7 separate regions of the Homo sapiens genome follow, and regions 1, 3, 4, 5, 6 and 7 are each linked to region 2. Evidence: promoter capture Hi-C in 16 types of primary human blood cells and fetal thymus (Javierre and others, 2016). All regions are on one chromosome and are shown on one strand. Each heading gives the region's core, a stretch centred on a gene start or on the middle of the fragment in contact. The rest is flanking DNA. Distances are from core to core; before and after follow the strand shown. Region 1 overlaps MARCHF6 (membrane associated ring-CH-type finger 6). Region 2 holds the start of FASTKD3 (FAST kinase domains 3). Region 3 overlaps MARCHF6 (membrane associated ring-CH-type finger 6). Region 4 overlaps MARCHF6 (membrane associated ring-CH-type finger 6). Region 5 overlaps DAP (death associated protein). Region 6 overlaps ANKRD33B (ankyrin repeat domain 33B). Region 7 overlaps DAP-DT (DAP divergent transcript).

What was found. Contacts are between HindIII fragments. The CHiCAGO score rates a contact against its expected background, and 5 or more counts as called.
Region 1: a contact is called between a fragment that was not itself captured here and the fragment with the promoter of FASTKD3 in region 2, in 1 of 17 cell types (total CD4 T cells). The highest score is 6.1, in total CD4 T cells.
Region 3: a fragment that was not itself captured here is called in contact with the fragment with the promoter of FASTKD3 in region 2 in 6 of 17 cell types (naive CD4 T cells, total B cells, naive CD8 T cells and 3 more); the score reaches 8.6 in naive CD4 T cells.
Region 4: a contact is called between a fragment that was not itself captured here and the fragment with the promoter of FASTKD3 in region 2, in 3 of 17 cell types (total CD4 T cells, total B cells and naive CD4 T cells). The highest score is 7.6, in total CD4 T cells.
Region 5: a contact is called between a fragment that was not itself captured here and the fragment with the promoter of FASTKD3 in region 2, in 2 of 17 cell types (activated CD4 T cells and total CD4 T cells). The highest score is 6.4, in activated CD4 T cells.
Region 6: a contact is called between a fragment that was not itself captured here and the fragment with the promoter of FASTKD3 in region 2, in 2 of 17 cell types (total B cells and erythroblasts). The highest score is 6.4, in total B cells.
Region 7: a fragment that was not itself captured here is called in contact with the fragment with the promoter of FASTKD3 in region 2 in 3 of 17 cell types (activated CD4 T cells, total CD8 T cells and naive CD4 T cells); the score reaches 10.2 in activated CD4 T cells.

What each region holds. Positions count from the first base shown.
Region 1 is chr5:10,426,498-10,429,488 of GRCh38, forward strand. It overlaps MARCHF6 (membrane associated ring-CH-type finger 6), which reads left to right. Exons shown (of 26, transcript NM_005885.4): 24 at 1-25. Among named protein-coding and RNA genes, the nearest start is that of ROPN1L-AS1, 14 kb to the right of the region's middle. The HindIII fragment of the contact is 3,847 bases long and covers 1-2,991 here.
Region 2 is chr5:7,867,124-7,870,280 of GRCh38, forward strand. It overlaps FASTKD3 (FAST kinase domains 3), which reads right to left and starts at 1,908. Exons shown (of 7, transcript NM_024091.4): 1 at 1,856-1,908; 2 at 1-1,073. The coding sequence starts at 960. It overlaps MTRR (5-methyltetrahydrofolate-homocysteine methyltransferase reductase), which reads left to right and starts at 2,025. Exons shown (of 15, transcript NM_002454.3): 1 at 2,025-2,092. RefSeq lists silencers at 1,918-2,357, 2,368-2,417, 2,478-2,527. The HindIII fragment of the contact is 2,367 bases long and covers 478-2,844 here.
Region 3 is chr5:10,378,732-10,381,523 of GRCh38, forward strand. It overlaps MARCHF6 (membrane associated ring-CH-type finger 6), which reads left to right. Exons shown (of 26, transcript NM_005885.4): 3 at 28-101. Among named protein-coding and RNA genes, the nearest start is that of MIR10397, 22 kb to the right of the region's middle. The HindIII fragment of the contact is 714 bases long and covers 1,030-1,743 here.
Region 4 is chr5:10,408,470-10,411,605 of GRCh38, forward strand. MARCHF6 (membrane associated ring-CH-type finger 6) reads left to right here. Exons shown (of 26, transcript NM_005885.4): 18 at 1,670-1,807; 19 at 2,864-3,068. Among named protein-coding and RNA genes, the nearest start is that of MIR10397, 7.7 kb to the left of the region's middle. The HindIII fragment of the contact is 1,081 bases long and covers 1,138-2,218 here.
Region 5 is chr5:10,747,163-10,750,229 of GRCh38, forward strand. It overlaps DAP (death associated protein), which reads right to left. Exons shown (of 4, transcript NM_004394.3): 2 at 1,013-1,109. Among named protein-coding and RNA genes, the nearest start is that of DAP-DT, 12 kb to the right of the region's middle. The HindIII fragment of the contact is 7,852 bases long and covers 1-3,067 here.
Region 6 is chr5:10,605,660-10,608,588 of GRCh38, forward strand. The region is part of intron 1 of ANKRD33B (ankyrin repeat domain 33B); the gene reads left to right. Among named protein-coding and RNA genes, the nearest start is that of ANKRD33B, 43 kb to the left of the region's middle. RefSeq lists a silencer at 1,587-1,636 and an enhancer at 2,307-2,556. The HindIII fragment of the contact is 2,123 bases long and covers 257-2,379 here.
Region 7 is chr5:10,767,066-10,769,993 of GRCh38, forward strand. DAP-DT (DAP divergent transcript) reads left to right here. Exons shown (of 3, transcript NR_187555.1): 2 at 559-710. Among named protein-coding and RNA genes, the nearest start is that of DAP, 7.3 kb to the left of the region's middle. The HindIII fragment of the contact is 2,650 bases long and covers 105-2,754 here.

The DNA of each region.
Region 1 (2,991 bases), core at 119-2,618, 2.6 Mb after region 2:
GCTTCTGGTGTTGTTCCTTTACTAGGTACGTAATGCTGGTTGTGGAGCCTTGAAGGAGCACTTTTATTAACATTGGACATTCTCTTTACCCCTAGTAAAAAGGATGTCTCACTCCATATGCTTTATTTGTAAATGTGAATCCAGCTAAGACAATGATTTCAAAATACCACTTTTCTTAGATTTGACTATTCTGGGTAAGATTAGAGGATCATAAAGCTCTTTGATACAGTTCTTTTCTCTACCAGAAGATAAAACTTGAAATTTACATGCTGTACAAAATAGGCAGGATCAGATTTCCTTCAGGTTGTCTTCTTCTGACTAGAAGTGCTGTGATCATATAAAATTAAGTAACAGTGTTGTTGTATTTAAGTTTTAAAGAAATATTCTTTGGCATAAAAGATCCAAAGAGGAGATGCTAATGGGCAACACGTTTATACTGAAATACACTGTCTTGTTGATTGTGTAGTGAAGACTCCTCATAGCTCCTTAAACCCAACATATTTTCAAAATTATAAGCAGAGACTTTTCCTTCCCAAATCTTTTTCTTCTCCAGAATTCCGTCTCTCAGCAGCAAACATTATCATCCAACAAATTGCATAAGTCAGAAACCTTGAAGGCTATCCATGTCACCTTATTCTGTCCTCCATGTCCCTCTGGTCTCCAAGTGTCCCATTCTTCCCTGAAGAATCTGGTCTCTCGTCTCTGGAGCCTTTGCTCCTGACTTTTGTTGAGTCATTCGTCTCCTACCCTAACTTTGGCACCTTCCTATCTGGTTTCCCAGCCTTGAACCTGCCATCACTAATTCCTTCTCCACACTGGGCACAATGACCTTTCAAAAGAATGAATCTCATTGTACCTCTTTGGTGAACATTTTTTTCATTGGTTCCTCTGTGGCCTTTAATGCAGTCCAACCTTTTGGCATAGTTTACAAGGCTCCTCCTTTTGCTTTGATGTGGGCTTCAGTTTGACCTCACTCCATGTCATATACTCTGAGTTTTGATTAAACAACCATGGAATGGCCTCTTATCAAACACACAATGTCCTCTCCATAACTGTCTCCACATTTTCATTTGTCTTATCCATCTGCCAGAAATGACCCCGTCCTCCCTTTAACCGTGAGAGAGGAGCTTAAAAAAAACACACAACCAAACTTGCAGTGTAACATGTATACTTGTATGTTACCTTACTAGGTCAAGAAATAGAACTTTTCCAGCCCTTTGGAAGCCCTTTGTGTGTGTGCCCTTCTTTACCTTTTGCCACTGGTTTGACTTCTAATAGTCTCATTGCTTCTTAGACAGTAAAGATATTAGCCATGTGCAGTAGCTACTTGGGAGGCTGAGGTGGGAGGTTGCTTGAAGCCAGGAATTGAAGACCAGTCTGAGCAACATGGCGAGACCCAACCTCTAAAAAAAATAAAAATAAATTATCTGGGAGTGGTGGCGCACACCTGTAATCTCAGCTGCCCTGCAGGCTGATGCAGGAGGATTGCTTGAACCCAGGAGTTCAGGGCTAACCTCAGGTTGTGACACTCCAATCTAGCCCAGGCAACAGGCCAAGACCCTGTCTCAAAAAAAAAAAATTGCTCAACACAGGTTTGTATAGAGAGAGGCTGAGCAATGTATCCCTCAGTCTGCAGGATGGCATGGGAAACAGGGAACAGTTAAGCTGAGGGCCCACAGTGTGCAAACTGCATCATTTCCTGGTTCCTTCTAAGTAGAAACTTCAAGGCTTTTATTTGGTTTGAATTGTGACTATGCCAAGTATCATAAATACCATATTAAAATGCAAATATATATTTCCTGCAAAATATATTTCAAAGCCCATTGCTTTTTAGTTTTTTTTTTTTTTTTTTTTTTTTTTGAGAGACGGAGTCTCGCTCTTTTGCCCAGGCTGGAGTACAGTGGTGCAGTCTCGGCTCGCTGCAACCTCCACCTCCTGGGTTCAAGCGATTTTCCTGCCTCAGCCTCTTGAGTAGCTGGGACTACTGGCATGCGCCACCATGCCCAGCTAATTTTTGTCTTTTTGTTAGAGACAGGGTTTCACCATGTTGGCCAGGCTGGTCTTGAACTTCTGACCTCAGATAATCCACCCCCCTCGGCCGCCCAGAGTGCTGGGATTACAGGCATGAGCTACCACACCCAGCGCATTGCTTATTAGTTGAATACGTCTTTAAAATTAAATTATTTTGACTCTTTAGAACAATCTCTTTACTGGTTTTGTCTAGAGTAGGAATGCCCTATTTTCTTTTTTATTCTAATTAGCATATATTATGTTCTGCCCATTAATAGTATATAGACTTAAGAATTTGGATTTCCAACCCAGTCATTCATGTTTTCATTTTTAAAAATTTTATTGTGAGCATTTCTGGAAAGACTTTGGAAGGGAAAAAGAGTGGCAAATGAAAAATGTTGGTACCTGTTTTGCCCTGTTTAGATGCTTTATGTAATTCTTACATGTTATTCTTAGGGTAGCTTTTTAATATGTTTTGTCAACTCTGTTTTAGAAATGGGAAATTGAGGTTCATAGAGATTGAGAATCTTACCCCAAAGTCTGGTTTTTAAGGAGTAAGAGCAGCATTCAGATTTCAAACTCAGCTCCAGAGCTTATGCACAGCACACTATTGTGGTGTTTGGAATAATCCACCTGACGGTATTAATTTTCTGAATTCCTCGAAAGTACTTGCTCTGATTTTAAAGCCCCCCAGTCCCCTCTGCCAAAGAAGTATTAAAACTCATGAGTTAAATATAGAAAAATAAATACATGTGTGTTCTAAAAGTTTGAGGATTTTTTTATTATATAAGCACAGTTTTGGTTTTGCTTCTTTAAACTGTGGTGCAGTAGAAATGTATCAATGACACCACTGCTTGTGGAACATGAGAAGTCATCTCGTCCAGTTCCTTTTTTTTTTTTTTTTTGAGGCAGGGTCTCACTCTGTTGTCCAGGTTGGAGTGCAGTGGCTTGATTGATCTCGGCTCCCTGCAACCTCCACCT
Region 2 (3,157 bases), core at 658-3,157:
TTTGCCCAATTTTATAATCAGAGGAAATGCTTGACTTTGATCAAGAACCACCAGGGCAGTGAGCATTTGGCTAATCAATTTAGGACTCAGGTTGGAAACTATTGATAGGGAAAAGTTGTTTATCTTATTTAAAAATGTTTGGTGTTCATCCACTTTTTCAGTACATGCCTGCAAGATTCTATAAAGGGCCACAATATCCTCCGGGGTAAATGTTTCCAATTTTTCACCTTGAAGTTGATTTATAATGAGTTCTAGTGTCACACAACCTGAACTGTGCAGTGTAATCAGACTTTCCCCAAGAATACAAAGATTGCGAACTTCCATGCCACCTTTTCTGAGACGATTTTGGCATTCTGCCACCAGGTTCAGCAACAGGCTACTTTGAGGATCCACATGCAACAGAATCAGAGCTTGCAAAGCAGTCACTAAACTAGTGTTTGACAGCTGTGAGGGCTCCTTTTCAAACTGAAAGCATAAAGCTTGAAAGATGCTATTCTCCAGTATTTCTTTTGGCAGCCCTTGATCACCATCCTTTTTTTCCACTTCACAAATTCGTTGTAAAGCTCCTGCTGCCATAGTGTCAGGCAGGGTTTCCATCGTGCTTATAAAACTTAGCACTTCTTCTGATGAAGTCAAGTTGCTCAGTCTCCTGTAAAACATCTGACTCTCCTCATTTTTAACATTTTGTTCAAGCCTGTCGCAGTCAGATACTTGAGAGAACACTGGTCCACCGAGTGGATGAAGGTCATTTCCATTTTTCGAATGAAACTTTTTACAATGGGCATGATGGAATTTGACCCCGAAAGGCTCAGGTTGTCGTGAACACAACCAAGGGCACAGACGCTCCTTGACTACCTTGTGAACATGATTTAGAGGTTTATTTTTTAAAGCAGCCAGAGCTCTATGCATCTGAAAATCAGATAAACGATAAAGGTTCTTCCTCAAGGTGATTAATGCCATACCATCAGATTCTCAATTTGATAACTAAATTAAAAAATTTAAAAACACATGGTTAAATACATTGAGAACATGATTGACCCAACATCAATGTTTATGAAACTACAAACGAGTATCTGGAAAAAAAAAAAAAAAAAAAAAAAGGATGGTTAACATATAAACACCAGAGGGGCAAAGTCTCTGCATCCTAGAGTTAGAAGAGTGGCTGACATTGAACAATAACAATCGCTATTACTTGCTAAACACTGTTGTAGGTATTCTATTAACTTACACAGATTCAGTACTTTTACTATCATTTTACACGAGGAAGAAGTTGAAGCACAAAGTTACTTTGCCCAGTTTATGCAGGTGGTTAAGTGGCAGAGCTAGGGTTCAAACTCAGGCAATGTAGCTCTTAAGGGTGGCCCTTAAATGTTGGTTGAAGGAAGAAATTGCATTTGGATAGAAATCAAAGAACAGGTAAAGTGGGCAAAATTAGGCGAGGTTAGAGCAAGGCAAGGGTAAAAACGCGCTGGAAAGGCCCTAAGCTGTTGGTTTCCCCTCGGTGTCGGGAGAAGGTTAGTGTTGAAGGAAAGGGTCTACTTTGTCAATGGAAACAAGGTAGGAAAAGAAAAAGCAAAACATAGATCAATGAAGGGAGAAGGTGGGGCGGCCAGTCCAGATCTAAAGACGGTGCGGGGGGATTTGGCAACACGTGTGTGCAAGACAGACAGACGGGAGGCCCCGCGGCGCGTTTTCCTAGGAATGAAAGGGACCCGCGGGGCGAGCACCCCCAAACTCGGCGCCCCGGGGACCTGCGCTGAGACACGGGCCGGGCGGCGCAGCCTGAGGAGAAAGCCGGCCAGGTCTTTGACACCCAGCCGGACCAACTGCGCGGAGACCCCGCGTTGACACCTACCGCGCTCTGCCGGGCAATCACTCCGGGTGGTCGCGGAAGCGCCTGGGCGTCGTGGGCCTCCGTAGCAAACGCGGGGCGGGAGCACGACTCAGGGCGGCGCAATGTGATTGGCCCAGGTCCCCTTCGGAGCTTTCTATTGGTCCTGGGTACCGAGCATGGGCGCTGCGTCAGTGCGCGCTGGCGCAAGGTTGGTGGAAGTCGCGTTGTGCAGGTTCGTGCCCGGCTGGCGCGGCGTGGGTAAGCTGCCTGTCGGCTACGGTTCCCGGATTCCGGCCGCTCGCCCTGCACTAATCTCCTGGGAGAGGCGGCCCGGGGCGGGGGTGGGCAGCCGGCTTGCGCCCGTGGTTCCCACGCCCTTCGGCCTCCGGGGGTCGCCGCGGGCGCGGGCTGGGGCTCGGACTTGGCCTTTGGCCTTTGGCTTTGGTGTCCCCGGGAGCGTGTCCTTGGGCTCGGCGTCGGCCTCTGCCGCGGGAGGCCCCTGGGCGGCGTGGGGTCTCTCCTCATGTTCTGCCTTTGGTTCTAGGCGCTTTCCAGGCCTAGGGAAACCGCACTCGGGGACGCGGGGAACTGGGGAACATGCCGGGTTGGGGCGGCGCGCTCCGGGGAACCCGGGACGTTCCGAGCGCCCACCCGGCGGGACGCGGCCGTGAGTTCTGCCCGCGGCCGTGAGCTCTGCCCACCGCCTCCGCGCCGCTTCCGGGGCTGCTGGGGCCCGGGCCTCCGCTGAGAGTCGTGGGAAGGTGGTGCCGGATTGTGGGGCAGTAGCAGGGATGAGGGGTTGATTGATCCTGGGAAGCCCTCAGGATGTGTGTTTCATGGGAAGTGATAGAAATTTTAGCTGTAGTAAGGTTTTCATTATCGTTTCCACCGTTTTCTGTGAGCTGTCAATGTGTAGTGTTTTCATATTGTTTATTCACTCATTCAGATAACTTATCGAGTACCAGTTTCATGCCAGGTGCCGTTCTGGGCGGTTCATTCACCGAAAGCCAAGCTTTTGGTTTGGGTTTCAGTTTAAATCTGTCTCTGCAAATTGACAGCCCACCAATTTTAGCCGTTAGATGAGTATGGAAAAAAATCTGTGAGTGTCGTTTGTTTTACTACTGCTTATCTCTTGCGGAAAAACGTGTTAGTAAAATGTTTAAGTGGATTGGAAATATTTTTTCGTTATATGCACCCGTTTGTATATATGCCCATACACTCACATATTTTTGATTTGCATTAAATAATGAAGGAGAGTATGTGCTTCAGTTACCTTTAGTACTATGATTAGTTTGTTTAGCGTTAGGATCAAATAAGAACCAA
Region 3 (2,792 bases), core at 137-2,636, 2.5 Mb after region 2:
TACTTATGAATCTATTTATAATTACAGCTTAGTTCAATGGCTGAAACACAGTCGAAAAGAATACTGTGAATTATGCAAGCACAGATTTGCTTTTACACCAAGTAAGTTCTTTAGACATTTTCACTGCATTTTTTTTGGTTATCACTCGTGGCATAAAGGTGTTTGATATGATCAGTTGACAGAGGAAGGGGGATAAAAGTGCTTAAGCACTTTAAAGCAATTATTTTCAGCTTGATTTTTTTTGATAGTAATAGGAAGTATTGATATTTAGGAAAATATTTTGAAAAACTGTATGCTGTCTTTTATCACACACATGTTTGAGATTTGTGGGGTGTTTTTTTTTGTCTTTAAAATTTATTTACTTTTAATTGTAGACAGGTTCGAACACATGCAAAAATCTAACAAGTCCACATGAACCCATCACTTAGTGTCAACTCATAGCCTGTCTTGTTTTACATACACTCTTGTTCCCTGCCTCTTTATCCTTTTATTTTTTTCTCTATTATTTAAAAAATAATTCTACCATTTGTAATTTCATCTGTACATACTTCAGTATGTATCTCTAAAAGGTAAGGGTTCTTTTTCAAAAACGTAACTATAATACCATTATCCACCTAGAAAAATAAACAATGATGCCTTGATTTCATCAAATATTCAGTACTCTTCAAATTTGGACTACATTTTGAGTTAAAGTTGTATAGGTTAGAATAATAGTCATAAAGATAAAGCTTTTTTTTTTTTTGAGACAGAATCTCGCTCTGTTCTGTTGCCCAGGCTGGAGGGCAATGGCGTGATTTCAGCTCACTGCAAGCTCCGCCTCCCGGGTTCACGCCATTCTCCTGCCTCAGCCTCCCGAGTAGCTGGGACTACAGGTGCCCACCACCACACCTGGCTAATTTTTTTGTATTTTTAGTAGAGACGGGGTTTCACCATGTTAGCCAGGATGGTCTCGATCTCCTGACCTCATGATCTGCCTGCCTCAGCCTCCCAAAGTGCTAGGATTACAGGCGTGAGCCACCGCGCCCAGCAAGCTTTTTTTAAAAAAATAATAAAAAATAGAGAGAGGGTCTCACTATATTGCCCAGGTTGTTCTTGAACTCCTGGCCTCAAGCAATTCTCCTGTCACAGCTTCCCAAAGTGTTGGGATTACAGGCTTGAGCCACATTGCTTGGCCAAACAAAGTTTTAAATTACCGTTTTTTTCATGAGGCTAACTTTTAAGGTCAATATTTCATAAGCCTTTATAAAATATTTTTGCAGCCTTTAAGGTTTTAACTATGATTCCTGTGCCTATTAATATTTAATATGTTTTATCTCAAATAAGTAGAGGACTGTGCTGGCAAGTTATTAAATATTTGAAGCATAATTTTTCATTCTGGGATCCCCTATATTGCCTTCCCTTACAAAGGATTTTTGTGTTTTAGTTGTGTGTGTGTGTGTGTGTGTGTGTGTGTGTGTGTGTTTAAGCATCTTGAGCTTCTCGATATAAATGCTGTAACTTAGTGTTTTACTTTGTTTTTATTTGATGAGTATAAATGATTAAAGTTATTACATTTTCACTTTTGGAGCTGTATATTCATCATAAAAAAGTCAATTCTGTTATTTTGTAGTCATTAATTTTCTGTAGTACGTAAAAGCTGTACAGCTTGTCAAGATTCATAGGAAACTAAGACTAACTAGTTGAGTATCTTCATGAAATTCAGTTGATAGGAAATATGTGGGCTTTTACTTTGAGGCCAATAGAAGCTTGTTTTGTACATTTTAATTTTCATTTGATAGTTACATTCTCTATTTCTTTTATCTTTTGCAAAAAATCTCTATTATTCCTGGTTTTAATGACTTGCTCTTGTATACCAGATATCCTATCGAAGTCAATGATCTGTGGGCATGTGCCATTAAAAGTTGCTATTTGTGGCCAGGTGCTGTGGCTCACCCCTGTAATTCCAGCACTTTGAAAGGCTGAGGCAGGCGGACCACCTGAGGTCAGGAGTTTGAGGCTAGCCTGGCCAACATGGTGGAAACCCTGTCTCTACTGAAAATACAAAAATCAGCCAGGTGTGGTGGCAGACGCCTGTAATCCCAGCTACTTGGGAGCCTGAGGCAGGAGAATCACTTGAACCTGGGAGGCGGAGTTTGCAGTGAGCTGAGATTATGCCACCGCACTCCAGCCTGGGCAACAGAGTGAGACTCTGACTCAAAAAAAAAAAAAAAAGGTGCTATTTGTCAGTTGTTTATTTCTCAATGTTTATAGGTGTGAACAGTTTTGTGATAGTGTTCTTATAAATTTTAGATCATTGCTTTTAAACCCTGATATATCATAATTTCTTGTTTTGGCCTTACTGGAGAAAGAATTGTTTGTTTTTCCTTTATGTTCTTTCCGAGCTACCTGTGGTAGAGGTTTTTGATAATAGGCAGTGGTTTTTTATTGGAACCATTTTAAAAGGGAATCCTTTTTAAATGTGGCAGAACTTTTCTTTTTCTGAATGTGTTGAGCCACATTTCTCAGAGTAGTGGGAAGATCTGAATTTATCATTTGAAATTTTAAGTATTATGCTAACATCGGGAAAGTGGCTAACAAATGTCAGTGGGATGTTTGCTCCCACATGAAATGATCTGCTGCGGACTGTTGTGCTTTTTGAGTGCTATTTAATGCTTATATTTGGGGGAGTGTTGATGGCTTGTTGTCAGCTTCATCTTTTGCTCCTGTTTGCTTTATTACATCTTTTATAGTTTGGGAAACCAGATGATTATATTGGTTGAATGTTAAAATGTGTGTAAATGGGCCTTGTATGA
Region 4 (3,136 bases), core at 428-2,927, 2.5 Mb after region 2:
ACTTGCTTGTCCACGTTTGAGTGGCAAGCATTTGATATTCTTTTTAAAATCCAGATTAAGGTTTTTAAATTTTATTTTATTTTTTATGAGAAAGAGTCTCGCTCTGTCACCCAGGCTGTAGTGCAGTGGTATGATCATGGCTCACTGCAGCCTCAACCTCCTGGGCTCAAGTGATCTTCCCACTTCAGCGTCCCGGGTAGCTGAGACTACAGGCGCAAGCCACCACACCTGCCTAATTTTTGTATTTTTTGGGGAGACCGGGTTTTACCATGTTGCCTGTGCTGGTCTTGAATTCCTGAGCTTGAACCATCTGCCTGCCTCAGCCTCCCAAAATGTTAGGATTACAGGCATGAGCCACTGTGCCTGGCCATCATTCCATCCTTTAAAATTGTCTTCATCGTTGTATTTCTTTTTATAGCATTTGTTACATTACTTTACAAATATGTATTGTTTTATCCCAGATGGCAGAAATCATGTCTTATTTAGGTCTTTTTCTCTCTGTCTCTCTTTTTTTAATTTAAAAAAATATTTTGTGGAGACAGGGTCTGACTATATTGCCCAGGCTGGTCTTGAATTCCTGGCCTCAAGCAATCCTTCCACTTTGGTCGCCCAAAGTGCTGGGATTATAGGTGTGAGCCACTGCGCCCAGCCTCTTATTTGGATCTTAATGCTTTGCATAGGAACATGATTGTTCAAAAATAAAAGGTTTACTCTACACATAGTAAAATCTCAAATTTGTATTTTATTAAATTAGAATTGGAAAATACTTATATCCTGATTATTTAAAGTGGCAGAAAAAATGCCAGTAAGGGTATAGAAAGTGGGCAGGATGGGGTTACAATTTAGGAATAGTGACTGGTAAAGACCTGAGGGGGTGACAGTTGAGGAAAGCCCTGAAGGAGTTGAGAGAGTGAGCCACGTGGATCCCTGAAGGCAGAATATTCTTGCAGAAAGTAGGTGCAGTGGCACCCAGGTCTGTTTGAGGATCTGCAGGGAGGCAAGTTTGTCTGTAGTAGGAGGAGGAAGGCAAAGAATTGGCCCTGAAGTCAGAAAGGTCATGGAGAGCCACCTCCTAGAGAGTCTTACACGACATAAGCACTTTGGCTTTTGCTTGAGTGAATTGAGGAGCTCTTGGAAAGCTTTGAGCAAAGGAGTGATCTAACTTAGGTTTAAAGAGGATCATTCTGACTGCTGTGATGAGAGGAAACTGGGTTGGAGTGGCTAGGTCAGAAACAGGAAGCCAGCTGGGAGGATAATGCAATGATCCTGGTGAGAGGTGAGGGTGGCAGAGATGAAGGGGAGGTAGCAGTGGAGGCCTTGAGAAATTTTTAGGATATTGTTAAGGTACAGTCAAAAGGATTCTCTAGCTGTTTGGATGTGAGGTGTCAAAGGAAGGAGTGACCTTTTGTGTAACATGCTACTAATATAGCAAGTGAGGAGAGAACCAAGACCTACCCATCAGTTTAGCAAAATGAAAGTCTTTGGTGACCCTTATCAGAAACAATTTGGTGGAGTTTGTGGGGAAAGCCTCACTGAGTTGGAGAGAGAATGAAAGGAGAGGTAATAAAGACAGTAAGTTTATTAGATTCTTAAGAAGTTGCGTTGTAATCCCATTAAATAGTAGTCATATGCAAAATACAATTCACATTATAAATCCTGCCTCTTTCAGTGATGCTCCAGTGAGTGAACTGTCCCTCGAGCTGCTTCTGCTTCAGGTTGTCTTGCCAGCATTACTCGAACAGGGACACACGAGGCAGTGGCTGAAGGGGCTGGTGCGAGCGTGGACTGTGACCGCCGGATACTTGCTGTGAGTATGGGCAGCTGACTCCTTGGACATGCATGTCATTTGTGACTATGGAATAACCTTTCTGGAAAAAGTATGTTCCATGGCCCACTCAAGAAAAATTAGTTTTAATAAGAGACAATTTAGTAATATTTGCAATTGCATATAATACTTCTAAATGAAATTTTTTTTTCTTATTGTCCATCCTTTCATGGAGAATATATACATCTTTTTGCCCTCTTATAGAAGTTTGCTGCTGGTCCAGCTTTCATGGAGTAAATGTCTTTTTTTTTTTTAGTGCATTAAAAACAAACCAGTTTACCTTTATTTAGACCAACTAACTTACCTTTATTTAGTGCTCATAACCTGGGAAATGGGTTCTTCTCAAATTTGATTTCTCAATCTTCTAGTGAACATGTTGCATTTTTTTCCCCAAGCTTTATATACTCTATATTTATTTAAAAGTTGAATCTTTAAAAGTTTTTCAGTTTGGCATCTTGTAGGTATCTTAAAGGTGAAGTACAGATTTGGTTATATTTGCTTGAACATCTGTCGTCCTCTAACTGCTTCCTCCCCCAGTCTCATTTCTGACCTAACTGATTTATAGCTTGGAGGTTTTACAAATTTATAGCTTGTAGCTACATGTTGCAGTAGTCATCTGTAGAGAAGATAAGAAGTTTTTCTTTTCCTCCTGTAGATCCTTAACAATATTGTACATTGTAAGTATGTACTTACACCTTGTGCTTGTAAGTACTTACCTCTTGTACTTACAAGTGTACTTGTAAGTATCTTGTACATTGTACTTTTTTCTTTCAGTTACTGATTTCTTCTCAGATACTGGCTGAAGAAAACGTAAAATAGGTTGAATTTATGGGATATCCTACAAGTTCATTAACATTAGAAAGGTTTGATTTAAAGTGGGTACAAACATTTAGACCAAAATTAGGTAATAATGTGGTGCACAAATTCTGTATTATACATTTTCTACCCTTAGTAGTAAATATGAAGAAAATGAGTGTCATGTCTGCCATTTTATTGTGACCTGAAGTGAGACTTGTTACTGATGTAATTTTTGCACAGGGATCTTCATTCTTATTTATTGGGAGACCAGGAAGAAAATGAAAACAGTGCAAATCAACAAGTTAACAATAATCAGCATGCTCGAAATAACAACGCTATTCCTGTGGTGGGAGAAGGCCTTCATGCAGCCCACCAAGCCATACTCCAGCAGGGAGGGCCTGTTGGCTTTCAGCCTTACCGCCGACCTTTAAATTTTCCACTCAGGGTAGGTGCTATACAGACTTAATCACATATAGAGGTTTTTTTGGTTTTTTTGTTCTCCAAATTGCTGTT
Region 5 (3,067 bases), core at 216-2,715, 2.9 Mb after region 2:
CTTCTGACTGAGACATCATCTGGAGACAGGCTGTATAAGTAGAGAGCTTAGTGCTTTCTTCTACGTGGACGAGCTCCCGCAGAGGTGTGTTAGTGGTGCCTGTTTGCGTATTGCAAAGTCGAGAGAAATGGATTCCTTTCAAGGTCCCTGAACCCAACTGGAAATCTGAACCTTTAAGGAAAATAGGTGTTGAGCAGGGGAGGAGGGGTCTGCAAGGAGACCCCTGTGCAGGCCCCAGGAGGGTTGGCAGCAGAGGTATCATATAAGGACACCCAGTCACTCATAAGGGCATGGCCTTGTAATTCTAGATCTGGCTGATGATCCGAGGGAGGAAATGCTTCAACCATTCTGAAATCAGAAGTTCTTGCCCCAGCTACACAGACAGCCAGGTCCACCCCTGAGGTTCAACTAGTGCGGCAATTCTCAAGGGTCTCCATGTGATTTCAGTATGGAAGCCTAAGTTGCAAACTACTGCCCAGAAATTGTTAGTATTTGTTTCTCTGGAATGACAACAGAAACCTGGAGTACAAAAGACTCACAGGTGCAAGAATTTGCCTACTTCGTCCACTCTGGTGGTCCAGCCTTGGGAAGAGGGTGGCTGGCAGCTGTGTCCACCATCAGAAAACCAATGAGCCACAGGAAGCTGCTCCTGCTTGGCTTGGCTTGCCCTGGCTTCCAGGAAGGGAGGCACACTGGCTAAACCCAGGCACCTGGGCAGGTGGAGGTAGGTCTCTAACTGTGCAGACAGACGGGGCACCAGCCCCTGGGTGTGGGGTGGGGAACAGGGTGGGCGCGTGGCAACTGCTCAGGAAAGAGGACCTCTAGGGGCTCTATTTTCTCCCCTGACTGAAAACAAAGCCCCCTCCTCCCTGATTAGGAAGGGAAAAATACACAGAACAGGGCCCCACATAGCCCAGGAGTTATCAGAATCATAGAACAGAGAACAAATGTTAATGCTTAACCGAATAGGGTTTTTGGAAAACATGCTCAAGAGTCGCTAGCATCATCCCACCTGGGGCTTTCCCATTCCTGGTCATCCTTGTCTTTCTCTTCTTTGGTGTCTCCTGTATGTGGGTGTTTCTGCACAATTCGCATTCCACCAGCTTTCACTGAAATGAAAACAGAGAGTGTGGGATTAATGTGGAAATGGGGCTGCCTGTGGATCAGGGGGACCAGCTGGAAAGGTTCTGGTTGCTCAGTGGCCACAAGTCAGTCTGGAGAATCTGGCAATGAAAATGATTAACTAGGGAAGGTCAGGGTTGTCGGGGTAAATTCAAAATGATACAGCACTCAACATAATCTCTTACTACAGATCCACTCAGAAACTTTCCAAGGCTCTTGTTTTTCTATCTGGTCACCTTTCAAGTATTTTGTCAGAGCAGCAGTGTAACGAGGGCACAAACTACACAAAGAGAGTGGCTGCTGCTTTCAGTTCTCCACAGTCTCAACACAAGAGCTCACCTCAACCCTCCCCTGTGAAATTTACTTTCTCAAATATCGAAGATGTTTTTGATGGGGTGATATGGTGATGGGTGACATGGGACAGCTACTGTGCCTTCACAGAGCCCAGGCAAGTGGCAACAAAACTTCTACTGCAGCTTTGCCCAAACTGTGCTGTGAAACCCTACCGCTGGCAGATGTTAACTTAGTTTTAAAAAACAGCTTTATAGATATGTAATTCATGTAGAATACAATTCATTCATTTAAACTGTATAATTCGATGGTTTTGAGTGCATTCAGAATTGTACAACCATTGCCATAATCAATTTTAGGAGATTTTCATCACCCCAAACAGAAACCCCACAGCCATGAACAGTTACCCTCCATTCCACCCCTCCCAGCTCCTGGAAGCCAGTCACCTGGACTTGCTTATTTCGGACATGTGATATAAGTGGAATTATAAACTATGTGGCCTTTGGTGACTGGCTCCTTGCACTTAGCGTGTTTTCAAGGTTCATCCATGTTACAGCACGTGTAAGTATCTCATTCCTCTTCTTGTCAAATATTCTATTGCATGGATGTATCACATTGTATCTCTCCACTCATCAATTAGACATTTGCGTTGTTTCTACTTTTTTGGCTATTATGAACAATGCAGCTGTGAAGAACTTACACGTAAGTTTTTGTATGGACATATGTTTTCATTTCCTTGAGTATATACCGAGAAATGGAACTGCCAGGCCACATGGTGCCTCTGAATTTATCCTTCTGAAAACCACCAAGCTGTCTTCCAAAGCCTCCACACTATTTCACATTCCCACCAGTGTGTGGGTTCCAATTCTCCACATGTTCCCGACACTTACTATTGTGTGTCTTTTTAATTATAGCCATCCTAGTGGGTGTGAAGTGGTCTCTTATTGTGGTTTGATGTGCAATTCCTTTATGGCTAATATGTTAATACTGTGTTGTAAGGGGTCGGGTAATCTAGCATCTATTAAGAGTGGGAAATGCCAGGTTGAACAAAATTAAATAGGTTTCCCCAAGAGAGACCTTCTTGGCCCTTAGTGTGCTACCTGCATGAGGAAGACTTACAGGAGGCATACAGCTTGCCAGCTCTCCCCAGCCTATCTGACCACACAACTTTTTTTTTTTTTTTTTTTTTGGCTATAATACCAGTTATCCTCCATCAGGGCTACAGTGTTCCATGAACAGAATTTGGAAATGCTGGCTGGCCCTAAATCCAAAAAGCCAGCCTCGCATGGTAGCCACCAGCATGTGTTTGGGGTCGGCACGTTCCTCCACGCCCTCAGCTATGTGGTCTCAGACTAGTGTCTCAGATTCTCAAAGATTCCCTGCTTCATCTGCAGAAAGGAGATAAACCTCCTCAGACTATTAAGAAGAGAGAGGCGTTCGGGAGAGTGGGGTGCTGGCTAGAAAGCAGGGTCATTTTCCTTGTAGTCATTGGCCCCCCAGGCTCTGGATGTGGGCCTTACTGAGCTTTACCCTTCAAGTCTCTGAGTCTCTGCCACAAGACGGCTAACATCACGATACAGTCAACTTGCCACACCATGTCCTCTGGCATTTTAAACTGAGTGGACCCTGCCGAGTCACGAAAACCCAGGCCAAC
Region 6 (2,929 bases), core at 68-2,567, 2.7 Mb after region 2:
CTGGGATTACAGGCACTCGCCACCATGCCCAGCTAATTTTTGTATGATTAGTAGAGACAGGGTTTCACCATGTTGGCCAGGCTGGTCTCGAACATCTGACCTCAGGTGATCCGCCTGCCTCAACCTCCCAAACTGCTGGGATTACAGGCATGAGCCACCATGCCTGGCTGAGTGAGTTTCTGTGTTCCGCTCTTCTAGCCTTGCTAGTTCCTTTAAGTTCTCTGTCGAGCTTTGTACATCTGTTGTAAAAATTCCAAGCTTAATTTCAGAAAGATTAAGTGAATCAATGGTTGGAAGAACATGTAATTGTTACTGACAGTCACTGCCTTCAGGTCAACGGTTAACAGGCTTAGTTTTCTTTCATCACATAATGCTTGTATGATCACTGCGTGGAAACCACTCCCAGTGTTGGGAAAATTAGATGAGCCTCTGAGATAGGAATAGATTAGGTATATACATGAAGTTGGCAGAGGGAATACAGTTGAACAAAGTAGTGGTTTCATACATTACTAATCTAAAATCATAAATCCCAGCGAGAGGTTTGCAGTGATAATAAGATTTACGTTTTATGCAAAATTTAGTCTAAAGGGAAATTGTTTTGAATTACTGACAACCTTGAATTTATCAAATCCTGATTACAGGGCTACAAGGTGACCCCATGTTGGAAGGAATTATCTTGATGTATTTTACATATTTATTTATTTTATTAATAAAATGTCATTTCTTTATTTAAAACAGTTTATTAGGCATCTCTTTATTTGAAGCAGAAAAGCATAGATAAAAATACAAATATTGGCCTGGCACAGTAGCTCACGCCTGTAATCCCAGCACTTTGGGAGGCCAAGGTGGGCGGATCACAAGGTCAAGAGATCGAGACCATCCTGGCCAACATGGTGAAGCCCTGTCTCTACTAAAAATACAAAAATTAGCTGGGCGTGTTGGCGAGTGCCTGTAGTCCCAGCTACTCGGGAGGCTGAGGCAGGAGAATCACTTGAACCCACGAGGTGGAGGTTGCAGTGACCTGAGATCGTGCCACTGCACTCCAGCCTGGCGACAGAGCAAGACTCTGTCTTTTTTTTTTTTTTTTGAGGTGGAGTCTTGCTCTGTCGCCCAGGTTAGAGGGCAGTGGCGCAATCTCAGCTCGCTGCAAGCTCCGCCTCCCAGGTTCATGCCATTCTCCTGCCTCAGCCTCCTGAGTAGTTGCGATTACAGGTGTGCGTTACTACACCTGGCTCATTTTTTTGTATTTTTAATAGAGACAGGATTTCACCATGTTGGCCAGGCTGGTCTTGAACTCCTGACCTCAAGTGATCCACCCACCTCAGCCTCCCAAAGTGTTGGGGTTACAGGCATGAGCCACCACGCCCAGCCCATTTTATAAGTACATTTTGTGCCCAATCAAGTATCAAAGACATAATCTTAAAATAAAGGACAGTTCTTCCCAAGGGAAAAAGAAAGTAGGCAACCTGACACATGAATAGATGATGTATGCTACTGTTACACGCACACACACACACTCAGAATAGACTGTGATGCTGTGATAACAAACCACTTCAAGTCCCAGTGGCTTAAAATAACAAAGGTTTGCCTCTCGCTCATTCATGCTGTTGTGCGCCGGCTAGAGGGGGCAGGGCTCTGCTCTCTCTGCCCTCACTCCGGAGGCCCAGTCTGGGAGCAGTTGCATCTCTGAGCTTCAAGGGCAGTCAAGTCAAGAAAAGGGAAGGTGGCACATCGTCCACCGTCTCTCGAAACTTCCTCCTGGAAGTGACACCTGCTATTTCACTTACGTTTAATTACCCAAAGCAAACCAGATGGTCAAGTCAGAACTCAGAAAGGGTGGGGAAATGCAATTTTACCAAGAGGCAGGAAGAAATAGATAACGGAATAACGCCAGTGAGTACTGCAGCTGAATCCAGTGCAACTGAATTGTCCTGGTTCAAACAATTAAAAAAGACTTTGTGTGTGTACTTTCACCAGCTTCTTCACAGACCGTCGCCCATACTTGAGTGAATCTTCCTCCTGTGCATGCTACTGTATATGATAAGTGGAAGAGAATAGAGAGTGTTGTCAGGGACATTTTTGAGGAATACTGAAGTCTACTTGGGACAGTGAAACACACTGGACGATGAGCTTCCAGCTGCTTGTTTTCCTGCTGGACTGTCTGTGAGTTCATCTTCTTATTTAAAGCTCCTTGTTACTGAGTGCCTCCTAGCAGCAGTTTCCTTTAGCCCTCTCTAGGAGGAGCACAAATGCCTATTCCTGGCAGCCTGAGCATGTCGTCTTAGGCGTCCTCTCGTGACCTGTGGTCTGGTGTTTTGCACAATCTTCATCACCACTCCTTCTAGAAGGACTGAGAACTGAATTTGACTTTTAAAACGAAGCTTGGTAATCAAGAATAGCAACAGCAGGCTGAGTACGGGGGCTCACGCCTATATTCCTAGGACTTTGGGAGGCTGAGGCGGGTGGATCACTTGAGGTCAGGAGCTCGAGACCAGCCTGATCAACATGGTGAAACCCTGTCTCCACTAAAAAAATACAAAAAAAAAAAAAAAAATGGGCGTGGTGGTGCATGACTGTAGTCTCAGCTACTCAGGAGGCTGGGGCAGGAGAATCGCCTGAACCCATGAGGCGGACATTGCAGTGAGCCAAGATTGTGCCACTGCACTCCAGCCTAGGCAACAGAGCGAGACTCCATCTAAAAAAAAAAAAAAAAAAGAGCCGTGGTAGTTCTGAAGGGGAAGAGCAAGGAAGGTTTCTTCCCTGCAAAACACAAGGCTGCAGTAGCGAATCAGGATTGCCTTGGGGCTGAGGTAGATTGTTAGACCAATGGGAGCAACTCTCAGGTTCATTCCTGTGTTTATGGGGAGGTGGGATGAGCTTGAGCATGCTGTTACTACCAATGGGAAAAGAATGGATGTGTTCATATATT
Region 7 (2,928 bases), core at 180-2,679, 2.9 Mb after region 2:
GTACAGCTCCGTGTCACCCCACTTACCCCCTACAGGATCCTGAGACACAGGGGGTTCTCTGCCCTTTTTTGATGGAGAAATTGGATCTGTAGCTGGATTTTCTAAGCTTGGTGCAAGGATTGGTAGCTAGTGTGGGGAGACCCAAGAGAACCCAGCTCTTGCTATCTTATCCATTGTAAATTTAAAAGTGTTTTGTAAGCCATAATATACTAGAGAATGTACTGTTATTACTGCAAAGGGAGTTTCTTTTTATCAGCATTCATGAAATATACGAATAGTCCCAGTGTGTATTAAAATAATCCCACATAACAATCACTTCGATGAATATTGCTTTCTTTATTCCAGGCTGGTTTCTGTTTCCTGTCTTCTTGTGCTGTTGTCTGATAGATGAGAATTTTGTATTCTTATTTACTACTTCTATGGCTTGAATGTGTCTCCCAAAATTCATGTGTTGGAAACTTAATCCCCAATGCAATGGTGTTGAGAAGTGGGATCTTTAATAAGTGACTGGCTCATGAGGGCTCTGTTCTCATGAATGGATTTATGCTGTTATCACAGGAGTGGGCTCCCGATAAGAGGATGAATTCAGCCCTCCTTCCTCTTCTTTCACGTGTTCTCTTGCCCTTCCACCCTCCACCATGGGATGACACACCAAGAAGGCCTTCACCAGATGTGGGCCCTTGACCTTGGACTTCCCAGCCTCCAGAACTGTGAGAAATAAATATTTGTTTTTTATAAATTACACAGTCTCAGGTATTCTGTTATAGTAGCATAAAATGGACCAAGACAATGACCCAGGATTTCTCTGATTTCTCCTCCATTGTTAATTTTGCTCATAAGGGGAGAGCGTCAGTCATTCTTGACTTTGCTTTGTAACATCTAGGATATTTCTTATTATACTATGTAGTGTAGGCTTTAAATTAATTTTAATGTAATTTTTGACATACACACATACACATAAAACACTTGAAGAGGATATACATATCTCAAAATCAAATAAAAATGATAGAATATATTTTACACACACATATACACACATGTGCGTGTGCACACACACACACACACACAAGTGAGGGATCTTTGGGATTTCACTGGGCCTCAACTTATCACTCAGTGACAGTTTCAGGCATTTTTCAAAAGTAATTCAACAGCTAATAAAGAGCATGGAGGTCCATTTTAGTCACATATGAGGTTATACTTTAGTTAACAGTATTTGAAGAAAAAAATAACCAGGCTGAACCTTGGCAAAATATTCCTCTTATCTTTATTTAAAAGTTAGAAAATAGAAACTGCAAAAAAGTTGAGAGTAACACAACCATGAATATTGATTTTCTAGGGAATTTCGAATGCTTTGTAAGTTATTTATAAAAAATGTGTTTTAGCAGAGAAATGGGAAGTGGTAAGGAAAATTTTATGTCTAGCTCTTGCATTGAGTCATTATTTGACCTTGTGCAAGCTACTTATGCATTCTGTAATTACATTTCCATATTGGAGGCCATAATACCTATCTTACTTGAAGATTCAAATAGTTATTCAATATTATGTCTTAGCATTTACAGCCCTCGTGCTGTACTATGTGCCTCCTAGAGGTAGTTTTGGCAATCTCAGAGTTTTGATAGCATTAGTGACACCATTTTTCAGAAGGGCTGTTTTCACAGGCTTTGAAGTGAAGAAGGTCTCAAAGAAGAGGCTGTTGGCCTGGGTTATTTTTTCCTCCAAAGGAGCATGTTGTATCTTCTCTTACTGGCCATATGGACGTTTTGACTACATTCAAGAAAGAATTAATTTTTATGAATAAGTTTTTTAAAAAATACAAAAAAATACACTTTGGAAAACCTAAATAACAGATTAATGTCCAAAGGAAAAAGCAAGTCACCACTTCTCAACAATCCTACCAGCAGGTAAAGTTGACCACTTGTAACATTCTGTTGTACGTCCCTCCAGGCTTCCAGACAAAAATAGACAAGGATTCTTTTTAGCTATCTTATTTTGTAAATTGTCCCTTAATTTGTGTTTGATGTTTTTCTCATAGTTAAAAACAGGAGTTACAGGTTTTTGGAAGGAAGATCATAGTGACCTTTTTTTATCACATTATGTTAATGTGATTATTAACATAATGTTATTAATATGACTAATCACTGAAGATGTCAACCTGATCACCTCATGATAGAAAGCGTTTTTAAGTATGGCCATTTTATTAGATTTAAGTTAATTTATTGGTGAGTTCAGCTCTATAATAGGACTCAATATGAACATGGGCTAAATTCTTTGTATCACAACCTTGAAGTTCCCCAAGAATTGCTAAGAGTCTATATTAACAAGCCTATGCCTGGTCATGAGTCTGGAAGATACCTCTGGGCTCTTGCCATCTCAGCTTTATTTGCTCTCACTATTCTAGGGTTAGAGATGGCAAGTAATTTCCTTAAAAAAATTTAGAGCTTTTTTTTTCCTGCTGAAATTACTTGGTTTTTTTTTTAGACCATCTTTCTTCTCAACAAATGATTTCCTATAATTGATTAATTATTCCATTCAGGGTGAAGTATCTGTGTGTGACTTTGCAGGCTAGAGAGGGTTGTAAATAATGACTTCTGTCGGATCCTAGTCCTCAGTGTGTTTGCAGAAAAGCCAGCTCTGTTCTTGCTCAATTTTAGAAAAGGTCCGAGCTTGGGAAGTACAATTGCTGTTAATCCAGATAAGAACAAATCCCAAAGCCATCCTTCAGGTTTGGAGGGACCCTCTGGGGCACCATTCACAAGCTTTTCACTGACACAAGTTAATAAAATGCTTTTGGCCATGGAAAAAATAAAAGAAAATATACAATTTCAGTAGCTCACTGGAGACTTACAACATGACTATTCACGGCCTTAACAAAGAACCACAGGGCATTTGGGTAAAGAAAAGCTACACTTAGCATTCCAGGCAAGGTTG